2 separate regions of the Homo sapiens genome follow, and region 2 is linked to region 1. The links are contacts of gene promoters, found by promoter capture Hi-C in human tissues and cell types (Jung and others, 2019). All regions are on one chromosome and are shown on one strand. The core of a region is centred on a gene start or on the middle of the fragment in contact, and the rest is flanking DNA. Distances in the headings are between cores, read along the strand shown. Region 1 holds the start of COA4 (cytochrome c oxidase assembly factor 4 homolog). Region 2 overlaps MRPL48 (mitochondrial ribosomal protein L48).

Region 1 (4,876 bases), core at 2,059-4,558:
TTTTTTTTTTTTTTTTTTGAGGGTGTCTTGCTTTGTTGCCCAGGCTCACTGTAGCCTCCATCTTTAGGGATCAAGCAATCCTTCCCCCTCAGTCCCTCCCTGGCCAGAGTAGCTGGGACTACAGGTGTGCATCACCACTCAGCTAATTTTTTTGATTCTTTAATAGAGACAAGGTTTTTCCATGTTGCTCAGCATGGTCTCAAACTCCTGGGCTCAAGTGATCCTCCTGCCTTAGCCACCCAAAATGCTGGGATTACAGGTGTGAGCCAACTGTGCCCGGCTGATGTTCGTCTTGATTTACCTTTGTGCCCCCAGCACTAGGCCTGGCTGAGAGCAGGCCTGAAAAGTGGTTTGAACTGAATGAGATAAACTGTGAGAATGCTTGACATAACATTCAATAAGCTCAGTGGATTTTGCTATTGGAATATGAATTAGGTGAAATGTCATCTTTTTAGATAAGCTATCTCTGATCTACCTAAAAAGAACTAAACTTTCAGCTAGGTACGATGGCTCACACCTGTAATCCTAGCATTATGGGAGGCTGAGGCAGGAAGATCCCTTGAGCCCAGGAATTTGAGACCAGCAGGGGTAATAGCAAGACCTCATCTCTACAAAAAAATTTAAAAATGGCTGGATACGGTGGCTCATGCCTATAATCCCAGCACTTTGGGAGACTGAGGCAGTCGGATCACCTGAGGTCGGGAGATCAAGATCAGCCTGACCAACATGGAGAAACCCGTCTCTACTAAAAATACAAAATTAGCAAGGTGTGGTGGCATATGCCTGTAATGCCAGCTACTCAGGAGGCTGAAGCAGGAGAGCCGAGGTTGAACTCGGGAGGCGGAGGTTGCGGAGAGCCGAGATCACACCATTGCACTCCAGCCTGGGCAATAAGAGCAAAACTCCATCTCAAAAAAAAAGAAAAAAGAAAAAAAATGTAAAAATTAGCTGGGCATAGTGGCACACACTTGTAGTCCCAGGTACTCAAGAGGCTGAAGAGGGAGAATCCTTTGAGCCCAGGAGTTCAAAGGCTGCAGTGAGCTATGATGGTGCCACTGTACTCCAGCTTAGGTGACATAGTGAGACCCTGTTTCAAATAAATAACCTTTCTTCTTTTATCCTACTAGCCTTATTCTATGCTGAAGAACAAAGTTTAAAAAGTGAAAGAGGCTGGGTGCAGTGGCTCACACATGTAATCCCAGCAATTTGGGAGCCCGAGGCAGATGGATCATAAGGTCAGAAGTTCAAGACCAGCCTGGCCGGGATGATGAAACCCCGTCTCTACTAAAAATACAAAAATTAGGCGGGCGTGATGGCAGGCACCTGTAATCCCAGCTACTCGGGAGGCTCAGGCAGGAGAATCGCTTTAACCCAAGGGGCGGAGGTTGTAGTGAGCCAAAGATCGTGCCACTGCACTCCAGCCTGGGTGACAGAGTGAGACTCCATCTCCAAAACAAACAAACAAACAAAGTGAAAGAGTGCCCAAATATGGGTAGGTTTTGACACATGGGAAGGATGGAAAGAGTTCACTGTGGCTGTAGCATACAGTATGCAGAAACCTGGCCTCTGGGTCTATAAGGTGAGATGGCTTTGTAAACTATACAAAAATGTGAGGTGTATTTATTTGCCCAAACTGTCTTGCCCGTCTGCATCAGAACACTCAGCAGAAAGCAGCATACAGAAGGAACTTAAGGTTTGAAGAGAAATGACTTCAGCCTTTGCAAAAATTTCACCATGATGGGCTGTAAAGCAACTAGGACTCCTTATTGCCTTAACTGTGTCTCTCATTCACTCAACAAATGATTAAGTACCTATCATGTACCAGGCACTATGCTAGTGCTGAGGATTCAAGACTGTCTAAGTCAGTTAAGTTCCTGGCTTCATGGAGTTTACAACCTAGACAAGGAAACAGGGCAGTTTACTACACAGTGTACAGATAGCAAAGACTGGGACCACAGTGGAGGGATGCCTAATCCAGACAAGGGCAGGAATAGGCAGGGAAGGCTTCCTAGAGGAAGTGATTTCCAAGCTGAAACTTGACAGATGGAACAGAAGTTAGCCAGAGATGGGAAAACTATTTTTGGTCAATGGAAGAGCAGGTGGTTGAGATAGAATCTGACACATGAGAGCAAAAAAAAAAAAAAGTTCAGTGATGGGAGAATACAGTGTGAGAATAAGACAATATTAAACTGGCGATATAAGTAAGTGATCATCACAAGGCTTTGTAGGACATAGTAGGGAGTTTAAGACTTTTTATTCTGAGGGCAATGGGGAATCACAAGAGGGAGTTAGGCACTTTACACAACTCATTTGCCTTGGAGGCGGTATAACTTAAGCAAGAGGGAGAAAATGGGCTTTGAAACAGACTTGGACCTAGCTTTGTCACTGCCTCATTTGGTGCCCTTGGACACATCATTTAATAACCTCTCTGGAAGCACAGAGATGAAGCCGGGTGCCATGGCTCACGCCTGTAATCCCAACACTGGGAGGCTGAGGCGGGAGGATGGTTTGCGCCCAGCCTGGGCAACACTGTGAGCCGTGATCACGCCACTGCATTCCAGCCTGGGTTACAGCGGGAGACCCTGTCTCAAAAAAAAAAAAAAAGAAAAAAAAAAAGGTAAGGTTTGTAAGGAGGCTGGTATGTCTAAAGAGTTCAATAAATGATAGTTTTCTCTTCCTAAATACACTGTTAACTCTTTAAATAGGGCCAGGAGCAAATAATTTAGAGAAAGAACAGTGGAATAGAAAGTGCCTTGATCCTAAACCAAGAGATCCGTGTTCAAATCCCAGCACTACGCCTTACTATGTAATCTTTTTCATTTTAGTTTTCCCATTAATAATATTTAATTCGCACAATTAGAATGAAGATTAATATAACGAATGAAAAGCGCTTGGGCTACTATAGGACTCAGTAAATGCTGCTGTACTCTCCTCTCACCACCTTTTGGCTTCAGTCTCCTCTGGAGTAAAATGACGACGACCCCTGCTCAGAGATCAGGGTAGGCTAGATGGTTGGCAGCTGGATCGTGGAGGCTGGCCTAAACAAGGAAGTCATGGAAAGGATCTTAAAGCAGAAAAATGCTGGCAGCCACGAGGCCTGAGGCGCCTCAGGCGTATCGAGGACTTTGAACTTTGAGGACGCATGCGCGCGCGCGGCCGCTGATCGCAGCCCCGTTGTGCCCGCAACGCCTCCTGAAGAACGCGGTACGCGATGCTCACCGAACAGGTGGGAGAAGAGGGCCCGAACGCACGCTCCTACGCGGCGGCTTGGGTTTCGCAGGCGGTTGGGGATCCTCTGTACATCCTTTCAGGAACCAGCCCCTCGTGGGGAGCGTGCACACGGAAGGGGCGGGGAATGTGAAAAAGTCACGTTTTCATTGGTGGCCTCTTGGTGTTGAGCCCACCTCTGTCCTCGCCGCACGCTTCTCGGGGACTCACTTCCGGGAAGGGGCGGAAGAGGTGGGCTGGTGGAGGCGGGGTCGAGATGGCGGCGCCTTTGAGGATTCAGAGCGACTGGGCGCAAGCCCTCAGGTGAATCCAGGCCCAGAACAGAGTCAGAGGAGGCGGGTAGTGGATGTTGCTTTGCGTCAAGGAGAGCCATGCCTGGTCCAGGATATCAATAGGGGTTACTTCGTCAATTGTCGAGGGATATGGAGGGAACAGGGTCCGGAAAAAGAAGTATCAAACCCGTATGGTCATTCTCTGAAAAGCTATCCCTAGGCCAAGGGAGCACATGAGCTGTGTGATCCCCGCGTCAGAACTAGTATCAGTGAGTTGGAGAAAGACAGGGATACTGGGAGGCAGGAAGGCTTTTGGCCAAGCAGTCATTTAGCAAATATTGATTAGTCGTCAGTTACTTCCAGAAGTCTCTGTACTCACCACCACTTTGTGTATGTGATGGAACCTTTGTATTCTCCTAGGCCCCTAATGCTATATTAGGCATACTGGACGATACTATTAAGGAAACTAATACTGTGTCCAGGCCCCATACTGGATGCTTGGTGGAGCTCAGATGTATACTCTAAATATAAGTGATGGTTCCTGCTCTTCAAGAAGCTGACATCCAGGCCAGGCGCAGTGGCTCATGCCTGTAATCCCAGCACTTTGGAAAACTGAGATTGGTGGATCAGTTGAGGTCAGAAGTTCGAGACCAGCCTGACCAACATGGTGAAACTCCGTCTCTACTAAAAATACAGAAATTAGTCGGGCTTGGTGGTGGGCGCCTATAATCCCAGCTACTCGGGAGGCTGAGGCAGGAGAATCGGTTGAACCCAGGAGGTGGAGGTTGCAGTGAGCCGAGATTGCACCACTGCACTCCAGCCTGGGTGACAGAGCGATACTCATCTCAAAAAAGAAGAAAAGCTGACGTCTTAATTAGGAATACACAGCAAACTATTCATTCATCTAACATTTATTGATCTTATACTATTCCAGTTATTTCTCTAGGCTTCAGGATGAATATAGCAGTGCTATATTTGGCAACTGCTACTACTAATAAGGGTTTTTCAAATTGAAACAATGGTGAAGATGAATGAAACATAGCCTTCTGCATTTAAGAAATTTACACCTTACTAAATTTATACCTTACTTAATTTAGGTGGGCTAAAATACAGACTAGTTGCTAGTACACAGAATGTGATAAGTAATAAAGAACAATAACATGAAGTGCCACTAGCTACCTATGAGAAAATACAGCACCAGAATCAGAAGGCTTAATTTGCCCAAGATCATGCATCTCGTCAAATGATAGAGGGTTGCTGTCAACCTAGATCTTTCTGTCTTAAATGCATAGACCCTTTCCATTATACCCTAAAAGTGCTAGGGTGAAGAGATCAGGATTTGGATGATTGGGCAGGTGCTAAAATAATAAAAGGAA
Region 2 (4,767 bases), core at 1,027-3,526, 72 kb before region 1:
GAACATCATCCCAAAAAAAAACTCCATACCCCTTAGCAGTCATCCACAGCTCCCCAGCCCTTCCAGCCCCAGGCAGCCACTAATTGACTTCCTTTCTCCATAGATTTCACTATTCTGGATATTTCACAGAAATAGAATCATGTAATATTTGGTCCTTTGTGACTGGTTTCTTTTATTTAGTATAATGTTTTCAAGATTCATCCCTGTAGTTACATTTTGTTTTTATATTCTCTTTAACATTCAGCACAGCAGTTGGCATATAAGCTTTTTTTTTTCTTTTTTTTTTAACTTGAGACAGGGTCTCATTCTGTCACCCCAGGCCAGAGTGCAATGGCACAGTCACGGCTTATTGCAGCCTCAGCCCTCTGGGTCCAAGTGATCCTCCTACCTCAGCCTCCTGAGTAGCTGGGATCACAGGTGTGCACCACCACGCCTGGCTAATTTTTTGTTTTGTAGAGAAAGGGTCTTCCTATGTTGGCCAGGCTGGTCTCAAAATCCTAGGCTCAAGTGATCTTCCTACTTTGGCCTCCCAAAATGCTTGGATTGTAGGCATTAGCCACTACACCTGGCTTATAATAGACTTTTTAAAAATAAGCTTTATTTTAGAATAGTTTTAGATTTACAGAAAACTTGCAAAGACAGTACACAGAGTTCCCATATATCCCAAGTTCCCCTATTACTATTATCTTTACATTAGTGTGATTTATTTATTTATTTTTTGAGACAGAGTCTTGCTCTGTTGCCCAGACTGGAGTGCAATGGTATGATCTCTGCTCACTGCAACCCCTGCCTCCCAGGTTCAAGCGATTCTCCTGCCTCAGCCTCCTCCCAAGTAGCTGGGACTACAGGCACGCACCACCACCCCTGGCTAATTTTTGTATTTTTGGGAGAGACGGGGTTTCACCATGTTGGCCAGGCTGGTCTTGAACTCCTGGCCTCAAGTGATCTGCCTGCCTCAGCCTCCTCAAGTATTGGGATTACAGGCGTGAGCCCCCACACCTGGCCTAGAGTGATTTTTTTTTTTATAATTAATGAGCCAATATTGGTATATTAGCTAGTGTCCATACTTTATTCAGATTTCCTTACTTTTTCTCTAGTGTCCTTTTTCTGTTGCAGATCCCATTCAGGATATTATATTTTATTTAATCGTCGTCTTTTCCGTAGGCTCCTCTTGACTGATAGTTTCTCAGATTTTCCTTGTTTTTGCATACTAGACTTTTCATACATCCATGTTGAAAGAATTAAAATTGTTATCCATAGTGGGCAGGATTTTCTCTTTATGTTATGGGACCTTAAGAACAGACTTTTTTTTTGTTTCTTTCCCGTAAAACAAACAAACAAACAAAAGAACAGACGTTTGTTTGGAAGACTGAAGCAAGGGAATTGCTTGAGTCCAGGAGATTGAGGCTGCAGTTGCTATCATTATATTTGTTTTTTTGTTCTTACCTCCATTGTGAAGTATCATTATCACTGTCATTTTTTAATTTTATTTTTATATTTTAATTTTTTTTTGAGACAGAGTCTTGCTCTGTTGCCCAGGCTAGACTGCAGTGGCGAGATCTCGGCTCACTGCAACCTCCGCCTCCTGGGTTCAAGGGATTCTCCTGCCTCAGCCTCCTGAGTAGCTGGGATTACATATGCCCGCCACCATGCCTGGTTAATTTTTGTATTTTTAGTAGAGACGTGGTTTCACAATCTTGGCCGGGCTGGTCTTGAACTCCTGACCTCGTGATCCACCTACCTTGGCCTCCCAAAGTGCTGGGATTATAGGCATGAGCCACCGTGCCCAGCCTATCACTGTTATTGAGAGAGACAGTGTACTATAATAGAGGCATAGCTTTTGTAGTAAGTCAGTCCTCTTTTTTTTTTGAGACGGAATCTCATTTTATGGCCCAGGCTGGAGTGCAGTGGCGCAATCTCTGCTCACTGCAACCTCCGCCTCCTGGGTTCAAGTGATTCTTCTGTCTCAGACTCCTGAGTAGCTGGGAGTACAGGCATGCACCACCATGCCCGGCTAATTTTTGTAATTTTAGTAGAGACAATACCATGTTGGTCAGGTTGGTCTTGAACTCCTGACCTCGTGATCTGCCCGCCTCAGCCTCCCAAAGTGCTGGGATTACAGGCATGAGCCACCGCACCTGGCCATTAAGTCAGTCCTCTTAGCAGCTTATTAGGTATAATTTTTTGGAATATAACCTCTCTGGGTCTCAGTTGCTTTACTTACGAAATTGTCTTGCAGTGTTTTCAGAATTAAAGAAGATTTAATAAAGCCCCTCTCATGATGCTGTGCATGGCAGATGCATACTAATTATTGATTGATATTAGAAAAAAATAGATTAAGTTGGAAATGGTAAACAGTGAAAAAGCAGTGTGGGAGGGGGACTTCTGTTTTTTGAGCATTTACTGTAGTGGGTGGAATGAGAATGATGACCTTGGTTTGTTTGCATGCTTGGTGTTAATTGTAGGGTAGCTTCTTTGTTAGATAAGAGCCTTTTTGTCCTTTTCTGGTTTGTGTACTGTGGGTTTCTTGCCTCTCTGAGAAGACATACTTGGAGGTCTATAAATGCTTAAGATTGTCCTAACATGGCTGTTTTGCTGTAGGTGCTGTGCCTGAGGAACAATACCATTTTTAAGCAAGCCTTTTCTCTCTTAAGGTAAGAATATTAAAAACAATAATTAAATATAGGTAACATTTGCCTTTGGCTTCATAGTTCACACAGCATTTTTTCATCATATTTACTTGCATGTCTATAAGCACATCATGCATCTCCCCTGCCACCTTGCTCCTTCCCCATTCTCAGTTAATAGCATCTCCATTCATCTAGTTGCTGAGGCCAAAATACTTGCAGTTAATCTTTGATGCTGTTCTTTTTTTTTTTTTTTCTTTTTGAGATGGAGTTTCACTCTGTCACCCAGGCTGGAGTGCAGTGGCGTGATCTTGGCTCACTGCAACCTCTACCTCCCAGGTTCAAATGATTCTCCCACCTCAGCCTCCCAAGTAGCTGGCATTACATGCACCTGCCACCATGCCCAGCTAATTTTTGTATTTTTGTAGAGATGGGGTTTCACCATGTTGGCCAGGCTGGTCTTGAACTCCAGACCTCAGGTGATCTGCCTGCCTCGGCCTCCCAAATTGCTGGAATTACAGGTGTGGGCCCCCGCGTCCAGCCAGATGCTGTTAATTCTTCAACAAAACTTGTTGGCTTTACTTTTGAAATATAAACAGAACCTTTTTTTTTTTTTTTTTAATTGAGGCAGAGTCTACCTCTGTTGCCCAGGCTGGAGTGCAGTGGCATGATCACAGCTCACTGTAGCCTTGACCTCCCATGCTCAAGTGGTTCTTCTACCTCAGCCTCCCAAGTAGCTGGGACTACAGGCATGTACTAGCATGCCCCATTCGTTTTTGTATTTTTTGTGGAGACAGGGTTTTGCCATGTTGCCCAGGCTGGTCTTGAACTCCTGGGCTCAAGTGATCTGCCCAAAGTGAGGGGATTACAGGCATGAGCCACTGTGCCAGACCTAGAACCATTTCTTTCTCCAGTTTTTGCCTCATGCTTTCTGTTATGCTAAACCACTAGGGGCCAGCTCCTTATTTTCTCATTGCCTTTACTACCATCACTTTGCCTCCCAACTGGTCTCCCTAGTTTACCTTTGTCTTCTGTTCTTCACAGTAAAGCAGAGTGATTTTTTTTTTTAAAGAGACCTAACATTATGAACATAAGAATGATTCTTTTAAAGCCAAGTTAGCTCACATCACTCCTTTGCTCCAAATTCTCCAGTGGTATCCCATCTTACTCAAACTAAAACCTGCAATCTTTACCATGGCCTATAGGACCTTCCATAATCTGTATCCTCATTTTATACTACTTACTCAGCATTAGCTGTGCTGTGGTTTGCTATTCCTTGATAATCTAAGCACCTTCCCACCCCAGGATCTGTGCATATTCTTTCCTCAGATATCCATATGGTTTGTCCTATACTTTTTTCAGGTTTCTGTCCAAATGTCATCCCATCCAAGAGGCCTTCCCTGACTACTCTATGTAAAATATACACCCCTCCATCAATCTCTGTTCCTTTATACTTTGCTTTTTCTTTATAGCAGATGTCACCATCTGACTCATTTTTTATATATAAAAATGTTTAACTGTCTTTCCTTGCCCCTTAAAAATAAGCATCATGGGGATACTGCCCTATTCCTAGGCCTACGATGGTATCTGACACATAGTAGGCATTTAATAAATATTTGTTAAATGAATGAATTGACCTTCATAGTGACCTGGTAAAACAGATGATATTATCTCAATTTTATATAAATAACTGGGGTCCAGAGAGTTTAATCTGTTGTTTTAATATGATGGAGCTAATTTGGGTTGGAATTAGGATTCAAATCCAAGTTGTCTTTTTTTTTTTAAACTGTTCTGTGTATAGATTGCTCTCCATTGTTTTTCTTTTTTCTTTATTTTTTTGAGACAGAATCTCTTTCACCCAGGCTGGAGTGCAGTGGCACTATCTCAGTTCACTGCAACCTCTACCATCCAGGTTCAAGCAATCCTCCTGCCTCAGCCTCCTGAGTAGCTGGGGTTACAGGCGCCCACCACCATGTCTGGCTAATTTTTCTATTTTTAGTAGAGATGGGGTTTCACCATGTTGACCTGGCTAGTTTCGAACTCCTGACCTCAAGTGATCCATGCTCCTCAGCCTCCCAAAGTGCTGGTATTACAGGCATGAGCCACCGTGCCCAGGCTCCCCATTGTTTTTCTCTAAGTG

The links. Contacts are between HindIII fragments. The study calls those that stand out against the background at their distance.
Region 2: a fragment that was not itself captured here is called in contact with the fragment with the promoter of COA4 in region 1 in 7 of the 25 tissues and cell types used here (adrenal gland, bladder, hippocampus and 4 more).

Annotation. Positions count from the first base shown.
Region 1 is chr11:73,873,538-73,878,413 of GRCh38, forward strand. It overlaps COA4 (cytochrome c oxidase assembly factor 4 homolog), which reads right to left and starts at 3,309. Exons shown (of 2, transcript NM_016565.3): 1 at 3,220-3,309. It overlaps PAAF1 (proteasomal ATPase associated factor 1), which reads left to right and starts at 3,462. Exons shown (of 12, transcript NM_025155.3): 1 at 3,462-3,531. The coding sequence starts at 3,485. RefSeq lists enhancers at 3,560-3,609, 3,630-3,699. The HindIII fragment of the contact is 11,350 bases long and covers 1-4,876 here.
Region 2 is chr11:73,802,426-73,807,192 of GRCh38, forward strand. MRPL48 (mitochondrial ribosomal protein L48) reads left to right here. Exons shown (of 8, transcript NM_016055.6): 2 at 2,602-2,654. Among named protein-coding and RNA genes, the nearest start is that of MRPL48, 17 kb to the left of the region's middle. The HindIII fragment of the contact is 3,695 bases long and covers 430-4,124 here.